Regions from separate parts of the Homo sapiens genome. Here regions 2, 3 and 4 are each linked to region 1. The links are contacts of gene promoters, found by promoter capture Hi-C in blood cells and fetal thymus (Javierre and others, 2016). All regions are on one chromosome and are shown on one strand. Each heading gives the region's core, a stretch centred on a gene start or on the middle of the fragment in contact. The rest is flanking DNA. Distances are from core to core; before and after follow the strand shown.

The links. Contacts are between HindIII fragments. The CHiCAGO score rates a contact against its expected background, and 5 or more counts as called.
Region 2: a fragment that was not itself captured here is called in contact with the fragment with the promoter of OR6S1 in region 1 in 1 of 17 cell types (monocytes); the score reaches 5.6 in monocytes.
Region 3: a fragment that was not itself captured here is called in contact with the fragment with the promoter of OR6S1 in region 1 in 9 of 17 cell types (total CD8 T cells, non-activated CD4 T cells, naive CD4 T cells and 6 more); the score reaches 7.3 in total CD8 T cells.
Region 4: a contact is called between a fragment that was not itself captured here and the fragment with the promoter of OR6S1 in region 1, in 5 of 17 cell types (naive B cells, naive CD4 T cells, neutrophils and 2 more). The highest score is 7.0, in naive B cells.

Annotation. Positions count from the first base shown.
Region 1 is chr14:20,640,309-20,643,032 of GRCh38, forward strand. It overlaps OR6S1 (olfactory receptor family 6 subfamily S member 1), which reads right to left and starts at 1,383. Exons shown (of 1, transcript NM_001001968.1): 1 at 388-1,383. The coding sequence starts at 1,383. The coding sequence ends at 388. RefSeq lists an enhancer at 2,320-2,724. The HindIII fragment of the contact is 1,898 bases long and covers 475-2,372 here.
Region 2 is chr14:21,061,585-21,064,308 of GRCh38, forward strand. It overlaps a transcript of NDRG2 not described here and a transcript of ARHGEF40 not described here. Among named protein-coding and RNA genes, the nearest start is that of RNASE8, 5.1 kb to the left of the region's middle. The HindIII fragment of the contact is 1,708 bases long and covers 515-2,222 here.
Region 3 is chr14:20,353,860-20,356,583 of GRCh38, forward strand. PARP2 (poly(ADP-ribose) polymerase 2) reads left to right here. Exons shown (of 16, transcript NM_001042618.2): 8 at 226-388; 9 at 950-1,088; 10 at 1,893-1,956; 11 at 2,038-2,172; 12 at 2,448-2,575. Among named protein-coding and RNA genes, the nearest start is that of PARP2, 12 kb to the left of the region's middle. The HindIII fragment of the contact is 1,841 bases long and covers 472-2,312 here.
Region 4 is chr14:20,380,688-20,383,411 of GRCh38, forward strand. It overlaps TEP1 (telomerase associated protein 1), which reads right to left. Exons shown (of 55, transcript NM_007110.5): 27 at 2,487-2,666; 28 at 1,936-2,028; 29 at 1,537-1,669; 30 at 1,226-1,376; 31 at 866-999; 32 at 626-714; 33 at 244-358. Among named protein-coding and RNA genes, the nearest start is that of TEP1, 31 kb to the right of the region's middle. The HindIII fragment of the contact is 2,872 bases long and covers 1-2,724 here.

The DNA.
Region 1 (2,724 bases), core at 133-2,632:
AGAATATTTGGATTTTAAAATATGATTTTTAAAAATGACAACAAGACCAGGTGTGGTGGCTCACACCTGTAATCCCAGCACTTCGGGAGGCTGAGGTGGGTGGATCACTTGATGCCAGGAGTTTGAGACTAGCCTGGTCATCGAGTGAAACCCCATCTCTACTAAAAATACAAAAATTAGCCAGGTGTGGTGGTGGGCACATGTAATCCCAGCTACTCAGGAGGCTGAGGCAGGAGAATTGCTTAAACCCAGGAGGTGGAGGTTGCAGTGAGCTGAGATCGCGCCACTGCACTCCAGCCTGGGCGACAGAGTGAGACTTTCTCTCTCTCTCTCTCAAAAAAAAAAAAAAAAAAAAAAAAAAAAGACTAGTTACTAGACTCTTCACTTTTACTTTACTGCTTTCTCACTGAGACATTTATCAAGTAAAAGATTCCCTAAAACGCCTGCCACTACCTTCCTAAACATGTCCTTCAAAGCTTCCTTGACTTGCTCATTACGTAAGGCATAGATGAATGGATTCAACAGTGGTGTCACAAATGTCGTTATTACTGTCACTGCCCAGTTAGTGTCCACAGAACCACTCTGCGATGGCCGCACATAGAGAAAAATGGCACTTCCATAGAAGAGGGTCACCACTATCAAGTGGGAGGTACAGGTAGAGAAGGCCTTCTGACGGCCTGAAGCAGAGGGGATGCTCAGGACTGCCAGCACAATGAGGCCGTAGGACACAGCAGTGATCAGCAAGGAAGATACAATGACGAGGGAGGCCAGGACAAAGTCAGTCTCCTCCAGCTTCTTGGTGTTGGTGCAAGCCAGGCGGAGCAGTGGGCCACTGTCGCAGAAGAAGTGCTGTACCACAGCACCCTGCTTACAGAAAGGAAGCAAGGCCACAGCCACTGTGGGACCAAGCACAGGGACGAGTCCCCCCACCCAGCAGGCCAAGGCCACACGAAAGCACACAGCCCCACTCATGAGCAAGGGGTAGCGCAGAGGATGACAGATGGCCAGGTAGCGATCCGCAGACATGACAGCCAACAGTAAGAACTCGGAGGCCCCGAGAAAGAAGTAGAAATAGAATTGGGTGATACATGCAGCAAAGGAAATAGTGTGTTGCCTTGAGAGGAAATTGCTCAGCATCTTTGGAATGATGACAGAAGTGAGCAGTATCTCTAGGCAGGACAGGTTACCCAGAAAGAAGTACATAGGGGTCTGTAGTCGAGTATCAGCCCTTACCACCCCCACAATCAACACATTGCCTGTCAGATTCAGGAGATAGACAAGAAGAAACACAGAAAATAATTCCACTCTTGCGCTGTTGAGATTTGGGAGCCCTGCCAGGACGAACTCTGTTGGATCACTACTGTGGTTCCCATCAGGACTCATTGTCTTTTTCACCTGTCCAACAACAAAAACATGATCCTGGTAAGAGCAGGTCCTCTGCTTACAGTCCTGAAACTTACTTCATCATGATATGGGACTCATATCCCCAGTTTATCCAATTGCAGGTCCTGTTAAGATCTGAAGCACTTAAGGTCATCATCTGATTGATTTTAGCACTAGAGAAGATTTTCTCTAAAGGGTAACAAAACTTAGGTATGAAAATGCCAGGAGCCTCCATCTCCTCCATCTTCACATATCCTGTTCTCAGATCTTAAATAATGACACCTCATTATTGTAATAACAATATCACTGAGCATCTGAGTTGGGCAAAAATATCTGAAAAAGGATTTTGTGAAGAATATGATTACCATTCAACTGGGATCAGAACTTGAGTCAGACTACCTAGTTTTAAATTCCTGCATCTCCACTTACTGGCTGAGTAGCCTTGGTAAGGTTACTTACCCTCTCTGTGCTCCTCAGTTGTGAAATGCTGTAAGGAGCAAATGATATAATAGTGCAAAGAATTTAAGAGTGTCTAGTACTTAACTTAAAAATTATATGGCAGAGAAAGCCCCTGGCTATAAGTTAGGACACCAGAATCTAGGCTTGGCTTGCCATTACTCTTGGAAGATTATCAATTTGTACTTTAACTGTCCAACTGTACAATGAGTCACAGGAATCTAGGCCATTAGTATACCTAATGAAATTATATAAAATTACCCTTTCCGGCAGGACGCAGTGGCTCATGCCTGTAATCCCAGCTTTTGGGAGACCGAGGCGGGCGGATCACTTGAGGCCAGGAGTTTGAGACAAGCCTGGCCAACATGGTGAAACCCCGTCAGATGTTTGTCAGAGCCAAAATTATGAATTTCTGACCGCAACTATTAATAAAAAATTATGTTCTTATTCTTTGATTCTTATTCTTTGCTTCAAGTCCTCCCAGTTCTGAGGACCACCACCAGTTAGAAAAATCAAGTCCATTATATCCAGAAAGCTTGTTTAAAAATGCCTCAGGTATCAGGAGAATCCTTACTCCCTTTTGACAGAGCAGGAGCACCATCGTCTTGGACAAACACTGCCACTTTAAGTTTCAGCTCCCTTTCTAGCCTCATGCATTTCAAAGAAATCACTTCTCTTCTAACTACAGGCAGCCAGAAAGAGCAGACAGTAAAACACAGATAAGACAGCTCGGGCACAGAGGGAGGTGAGGGGAAATTCTTTTGGGTAACCGCCAAACTTCACCATCATACAATGGGCCCCAGTAAAACGATGGGCCTTAATAAGCACCTTTCTTTCCCTTCAGGTGCACTAAGATAGGGAAGCTGAATGGGAGTATGCCTGCAG
Region 2 (2,724 bases), core at 119-2,618, 420 kb after region 1:
CCCTGAGAACGTGTTTCCAAAAAATCACTTGAGAAGGGGCTCCTCAGCCATTTGGGAGGACATAAATATTTTCCAGTGGGTAAGTATGTTCTAACATCCAGAAAATTTAGAATTAAGTATAGAAATGTTTAAAAGAATCAACACATAGCGTTAACATGTTTGTATTAAGGAATTTGTATTAGGCTTGTCATTCTAATTTAAAATGCACATGGTTTGAAATGAAACTTTCCTTTAAAATTAGTTTTGGATCATGTAAGAAAACATAGAAATTGAATCATCCTATTTAGAAATTGTTAGATTTATAAAGGTTTTTAAGTATTCAGGAATGTTTTGCTGGTTAGCTCAAATGCCCAAATTACTTTATAAGGACATGGAATATATATTGAATTTATAAAATATCTCTTTTAATGTTTAAAGAGTTTCATTAACTACTTACAAATAAGATCAAATAGTCGGTGAATACAATTCTTTAAAGTGATTATTAGAATTTATTTCTATGTAAGTTAAACATAAAAGCTTAAGGAAGCTGATTTATAACTTTAACATAGGAAACATAAGTGTTAAAAAGCCAAGTAGCCTCTAAATACTCTTTGTTGGACACAAAAGAAACATTTTAAAAACTCACATTGACACTACAAGACCGATTCATGTTCTATGATATTTTCATCTGTACTGCACAGTGGGCTTTGGTGATTATATTTTCCGGTGTTAATATGTTTGTTGATTTTGCTGGGGCGTTTAGTAGGGAGGGAAGCTCAAGGCTCAGGCTCAAGGGCATGCGACTGGCAGTGGAGCCCTCAGAGTGGAACCTGGACCTCTGTCTCTCCTCAGCATTCTCCTCCCTCTGCACTGTGCTGCCTTCAGTTGGGTTATTTTTCTGACTTGGGAATGGGAGTATTATATCCTAGAAAAACTGAGAAAGGTGAGCAGGGTTTGCCTGAGGCCCGTGTAGGGGTGGCAGAGGATTTCAGCAAAATATACTCCCAGAAAAAGTAAAACTCAAAGGCTGTGGTCAGGTCTCCACCCTTTATAGGGACTTTTCCTCCTTGGCCAAACTTGGAGTTTGAGACTACTTTTACTAAGTAGAGTAGCTTTTAAAATGTAAACAAAACAGGCTGGGCACAGTGTGTGTGTGTGTGTGTGTGTGTGTGTGTGTGTGTGTTTTGTTATTTGAGATGGAGCCTCACTCTGTTGTCCAGGCTGGAGTAGTGCAGTGGTGCGATCTCAGCTCACTGCAACCTCCACCTCCCAGGTTCCAGTGGCTCATGCCTATAATTCCAACACTTTGGGAGGCTGAGGCAGGAGGATCAATAGAGCCCGGGTGTTCAAGACCAGCCTGGGCAGTATAGTGAGACCTTGTCTCTAAAAAAAAAAAAAAAAAAATTGTTTTAATTAGCCAGGTGTAGGGGTGCACACCTGCCTGTAGTTCCAGCTACTGGGGATGCTGAAGTGGGAGGATTGCTTGAGCCCAGGAGGTGGTGGTTGCAGTCAGCTGAGATTTCACCACTGTACTCCAGGCTGGGCAACGGAGCGAGACCCTGTCTCAAAAAGGAAACAAAAGCAAAAACAAAAAACGGATTTTAAGCAACCAGTTTCTTCAGTAAATTAGAGTGCCTGCCTAAAAGTGGTGTGTATGTGTGTGTGTGTATGTGTGTGTGTGTATATAAACACACACGTGTTCAGGGTGAGGAAGTAAAGTTCTGTTAATGGAATTAGGAGTGCTATATTCCGCCAATTACAGATCTTTTGGGATTCCAAACTCCTCATCTGAAGTGCAAATATCTATTGGCACAAATAAGATAATGTAACAATTACTTGGAATCAATCACTTAGGTGTTGGATTTGGCTTGGGGTTATTTGGAGGCAAGGCAAGGATATAGGTTTTGTAATTGGGGGGTCTTATGCGTATGTTCAACATGGGCAGAGACCTGGAGGTAGACACTAAGTACAAAAAAAAAGGAAATGTCAAGGAACTAGAGACAAAGTTTTATCCGCTGCTTGGCAGTTCTGAAGTCTGGAGGATGGGAATGACTTCACGCTGTTGGAATTCCTAGATTGTCTGCTCCAGAAGACTGACTCTGCTGGGGGTCTGCCAATGAGAGCTGAGGCCACTGCTAGCTATAACAGGCACAGGTTATGTCTTAATAAATGTTCATTTAACAAAATGTGGTTTTGGAGCAAAGGGCTGGGGGTAGGAAAATGTACAGATCACAAATCTGGAAAGCTTATAAACAATTTCTTTAAAAGCTCTCTCATTATGCTTAAAATTTTTCAGTGAGAGGGAATTTACCTATGGAGATAGCTTGTCCCATTTTCAGGCAACTCTAAGTATTCAAAACTCCCTTACATAGAACCGAATCTGCTTCTTTATAACTGCAACAATTCACTGATGCCCTACCGCTTTGAGCCATTCAGAGTAAGCCCAATTCCTCTTCACAATCAACCTTTTTAATATTTTAAGAGTGTTTCATGACCCCTGCCCTCCACATATTGCCACATCTGGCAGTAACAAATGTTATAAAATGGCTCCTACCATTTGACCCAATAATTCCATTTTGTAAAATATGTCGAATGGGAATAATTCAAAGTGCGGAGGAGTACATTTCTACAAATCTTTTTATACCTTTTCTTCATACAATGGAGAAAAGTTAAACATAATATAAATTCCCTAAAATTGAGAGTGACTAAATGAATAGTGAACAACCACTTGATGCCTTTTTTTTT
Region 3 (2,724 bases), core at 142-2,641, 290 kb before region 1:
CAACCCTCTATATCCATGGATTCAATGAACTGAGAATCAAAAATGTTTGAAAAATTGCTTCTGTACTGAACCTGTACAGCCTTTTTTTCCTTGCTTCTCATTATTCCCTAGACAGTGCAATATAAAAACTTTACAAAGCATTTACATTGTATAATATTGGGTGTTATAAGGAATCTAGAGATGATTTCTTAGATTGTCTTGTGTTTTGTTTGTTTTTTGCTATAGGATGAAGAGGAAACAAAGAAAGAGGAATCTCTTAAATCTCCCTTGAAGCCAGAGTCACAGCTAGATCTTCGGGTACAGGAGTTAATAAAGTTGATCTGTAATGTTCAGGCCATGGAAGAAATGATGATGGAAATGAAGTATAATACCAAGAAAGCCCCACTTGGTAGGACTTCACATTTTCTTCTGCATTCTCTCCTTATAATTCCTAGCTCCTTTAATGGATACTTTATTATCATTATGATTTAAAGCTTGCTCATAGTACTGAATGAAGAAAATGGGATTTGGGGTGACAGGTTGTATGGAGGGAAGAGGAACTATTTTGAAAGTTGAGGCTGGGTGTGATGGGTCATGCCTATAATCCCAACACTTTGGGAGGCCAAGGCAGGTGGATTGCTTGAGCCCAGGAGTTTGAAACCAGCCTGGGCAACATGGTGAGACCCCATCTCTACTAAAAATAGAAAAATTAGCCAGGCATGGTGGTGTGTGCCTGTGATCTAGCTACTTGCGAAGCTGAAGTGGGAGGATCACCGGAGCCCAGGAGGTTGAACTGCATTTAGCTGTGTTTGTGCCACGGCACTCAGCCTGGGCAACAGGAGTGAGACCCCATCTTAAAAACAGGAAAAAAAAAAGTTGAAAGATGAAAGTCTTTTTTAGGGAAGGATGTTAAGTACAGTTCACTAGATGGGATCCTAGTTTGGAGTCTGATCTCTGGGTGGGCCTGCAGGGAAGCTGACAGTGGCACAAATCAAGGCAGGTTACCAGTCTCTTAAGAAGATTGAGGATTGTATTCGGGCTGGCCAGCATGGACGAGCTCTCATGGAAGCATGCAATGAATTCTACACCAGGATTCCGCATGACTTTGGGTAAGGCCTGTGCTGTTACTTCACTTTGTTCTTCTACCTATACATATCCCCTGTATCCATCAGCAGCAGCTATAATCTTTTAAATCTTTTATTCCTAAGAAAATGATCGTCTTGAATAGGTACAGAAACAAAATGATATATAGGTAGCCTATTTAATCAGCTTACAAATATGGGATGCAATCTCCCGGCTTGACCACAGCCATATTCTCTGACAAAGTGGAAGTTACCAACCCAAGAGAGAATGGGTCTAGCTATCCAACCACCCAAGTAAAACACCTTCAGGCATATCACCCCCTTTTCCTATTTGAGTAACTAAAACCACACAAACACCATTTCTGTGAACTCAAGTGATATTAGATAGACAAAATAACATTTTACATTTGTTGATTCTGTTTTCTGGTTTACATCCGATTTCTATTTCTTTTATAGCTTTATAGAGCCCCGTGACCTAGAAATAACCCTGAGTGGTCAACAGGTCTACCTGTGCTTCTAGATAGAACTGTATCCAACTGTTCCCTGTTGATATCAATATAACTTATTTTTAAATGATTTTATAAAAAATAATTTTAACTCTAGTCTCAAAAGTCAAAATCCACATAGTTCATCTTATACCGAGTATATATTTAATATTATTTTATATATTTGGAAGTTAAGATCTCTTTACAGATCTCTTTCTCTCTCAAATGGAAAACCTGTTTCTCATACCTGTTTTCTAAAGGACCTATCTGTCATTTTCTATTTTTAGTCATGCGCCTTTTAGCCACATGTCAGAAAGCTCATTATGGGTTATATCTCTGTTCTTAGACTCCGTACTCCTCCACTAATCCGGACACAGAAGGAACTGTCAGAAAAAATACAATTACTAGAGGTGAGATATGTATGATTTGAGAAGTATTATATCCCTTATACCAGTGTCCTCCCACATTGATTCTATATCTCATCTTCTCAGGCTTTGGGAGACATTGAAATTGCTATTAAGCTGGTGAAAACAGAGCTACAAAGCCCAGAACACCCATTGGACCAACACTATAGAAACCTACATTGTGCCTTGCGCCCCCTTGACCATGAAAGTTATGAGTTCAAAGTAAGAAAAATGATCATTTATTTTCATATTCTTGCACCCTTAACCACCTCCCCCATCCCACTGTTCTCTAACTACTTCTTGTCAAGAGCAAATTGTCAATTAGGGCAGACTTTTTATGTACTAGGGATTTGGGAAGGCCAAGCTTTTCCTAGCTGCCTTGTAAGACTGTTTGGGAGCAGAAAGGTCTGCCAAGTTATATCAGAATCCCCAAATTCTTCAGTTCAGCTCAGTCTCTTGTAGAGTCTACATCAGCCTTTTTGTCTTATTTTTCACAGGTGATTTCCCAGTACCTACAATCTACCCATGCTCCCACACACAGCGACTATACCATGACCTTGCTGGATTTGTTTGAAGTGGAGAAGGATGGTGAGAAAGAAGCCTTCAGAGAGGACCTTCATAACAGGTCTGAGTCTAGCTTTGCGTTTGGAAAGACACTCCTTGCCCGAAAGTACAGCTGTAGAACTTATAAGAGGGAGTCAGAGGAAGGTGTTGGCTTTTTTATGCTTATGGCCTATCTGTGCAGAACAACAGAGTACAATAATATTGGCTTTT
Region 4 (2,724 bases), core at 122-2,621, 260 kb before region 1:
CAAGTTTCCTAGATAGTTTTATGCTAACTAAATAAAGTTGAAGAATCTCTGGTCCAAGAGATCAAGGTGAAAGGTCTCCTGAGAGTCACGTGCTCACCCTCTTGGCATTTTCAACTCGAAATGGAAATTTGAATCTTTTTTCCCTGACACCCACACCCCTGCCCCAACCCTGAGCAGGGCCCCCATAAGCACACCCAGGAGTCCCATATCTCAGAGAAGAACCCAGCCAGTGACTCATCTCACCATAGAGGGCATGGGCCTCCAAGAGCCGAGAGACCAGACCCAATTCCAAGTGTGCAGCCACCACATGGAGGTTGGTAAGGAACTTCGAAAGAAGTCCACGGTTCCCGCTCTGGAGCTGAGAAGGTCAGATTGAATTCATTAGGGATATGAAGGGGCTGGTGAGAAGGGACAGTTTAGTCTCAGAACCTGGATACAGAGATAGGATCTGAGCTGGGACAAAGGACTTGAAGAAGAAGGGCAGGAAAACTGAAAGGAAAGAGGTCAAGGGAGTTTGGGAGGGGTAATGGCGGCGGTGATGGTGGAGATGGTAACGGGGAGAGGGGTCTCAGAGCAACCAAAGCACTCACTTTGGGAAAGGTGTCTATGGGGTCTAGGAACTAACCAGGTGGTAAGGCAGGTCTCCCAGAGCCTCAGGAGGGCAACTTCGGAAGGTGCCTGAGGCATCAGCGTCACATGTCTTCCAGAGCTGAGCTGCATGAACAGATATTGAGAAAGGCTCAGCCCTGCATCATTCCCAAGGGCAGTAGGTGAGCTGGCCAGCAGATGGGAGCACAGTGGGTGGTCCTGGCCTCCAGGCCCAAGCCCCACACTCAGTGCCCAGGCTGACTTGGGCTGCAATCACCTGCAATGAGGATGTGTGCCGTGTCCTCTAGCCCTGGCCTCTTCCCATAGCAACGTTTAGCTGCTGTTCTCAGGGGCCCATCAGGGAGGCACAGCCGGGCACCAGGGCGCTCCAGAGGGCCCTCCCCTAGCAAACTGTCCTCGTGTGAGGAAGGGAGAGAGAAGAAGGAAGAGGCCTGTCAGTGAGCTTCCTGGCACACAGTGGGCTCCTATTCCCCCCTCAAATAGCGGAAACTGGAGCAGCTGGAGCAGTAGCTCATTCATGGTCTGGGAGCCAGTTGTTGAAGCTATACAGAGGGCCCCGGCTCAAAGAAGGGAAGGCACAGAGAGGTCAGCGGGAGCTCTGCTGGGGCACCTGTACCTGCGCAGACTCTGGACGAGGCAGGCAAACGGGCCCATGGGGTAGGGGTCTCCACTGTTACCAGCAGCCACTGCTTCTTCCCAGCTCTTAGTCCCCTTCGGTAGTGTCCGCCACACACTCAGCACTCCGTGCAGCTGGTCCACAGTCAAACCTGAAAACTCAAGCTCTCTGAGGCCCTCATCTAACCATACGGTGTCCCCGCCCCCACCACACCCAGTCTCTCCTTGAACTGCCTGCTGAGACCCCAAGGGAACCAATGTAATCCGAACCCTGGCCCTCAGCCTCCCAACCAACCCACCCCAAGCACTGACCACTCCGTGTGACTTCTAGGGCAGTCAAGGCCTGGGGAAGGACATCAGGCCCGTGCTCCTTCTCCAGTGTGCTCAGGATGTGCTGCAGCAGCAGGGGGACAGTGGCAGGCAGGGTCCGGAGTCTCTCAGACACCTAGGATGGCGGGAGGACAGCCTTGTTCAGTGCAGTGGGAGGAGAAGCAGCTTGGCTTGTGGGATAGGGAAGGGGCAGCAGGAGGACAGTGTGGAGGAATGAAAAAGTAAAGAACAACAGTAGGAGGGAAGTGAGGCGAGGTATGAGGCGAGGATAGGGAGTGGGTGATCACAAGACAGCAAAGGACGTGGGATAGGGATGAGACAAAGCAGCTGAAGAGAGAATGGGAAGTAGTGATTAGGACTTGGAAGGTGATGAGAACTGACCTGCTCATACAGCGTGAAGAGCCTCAGGTGATCGGTGACCAAGCGCAGGTAGAGCGGCCGGCCTGATTCCCGCTTCACCAGCAGCAGTCGCATCTGGCAAGACTCAGGACTCAGGGTGGGGTCCAGGAGGGCTGCCCGCAGCCAGCCCTCTGCCCCAGCACCAGCCCCTCTGCCAGGCAGCTCCTCCTCTGAGAGTCCCCAGCAGACGCCAGGTCCATGGCATCATCCCAGGACACAAACCATCCCTCTCCTACGCTGCTCTGCCCAGCCAGCCCTGCCAGAAAACCCCTGTGGCTCGGCCTACCCCACCAAAAACCACTTGACTCATCCCCTCACCCCGAGAGGCCCTGGAAAGGCCATTCACCGGGGGAAGAGGGCTGGGTGACATGATCAGGAATCACAATTTTCTTATTAACAACTTCCCATGGACAGAATTTCTGAGAAAACAAAGGAGCAGGTCTGTGCAAGGCAGCTAGCGGCCTCGGCACCCCAGGTCCTCATAGCTCCCAGATTCACCCCACACACCCACCGGCCCCGGCCTAGAACCCAACCTGGTTGTTAAATGGTGACTCCTCCAGCCGCTTCCCGTACAGGGCCAGCTCCTCTCTCACCAGCCGGGCCCGAGCAGAGGCCTCCAGAGGCCCCAAGGCCAGCACGTGGGCACCCTGGCTCTGCTCAAGGGTCTCCCCTAGGCCTGCATCACTAGACACACTCAGCACCAGGTGTACACACTGTGATATTTGGGCAAAGGGGCAGGAAGGTAGAAAGAAAAGGAGAACCACATTGGAG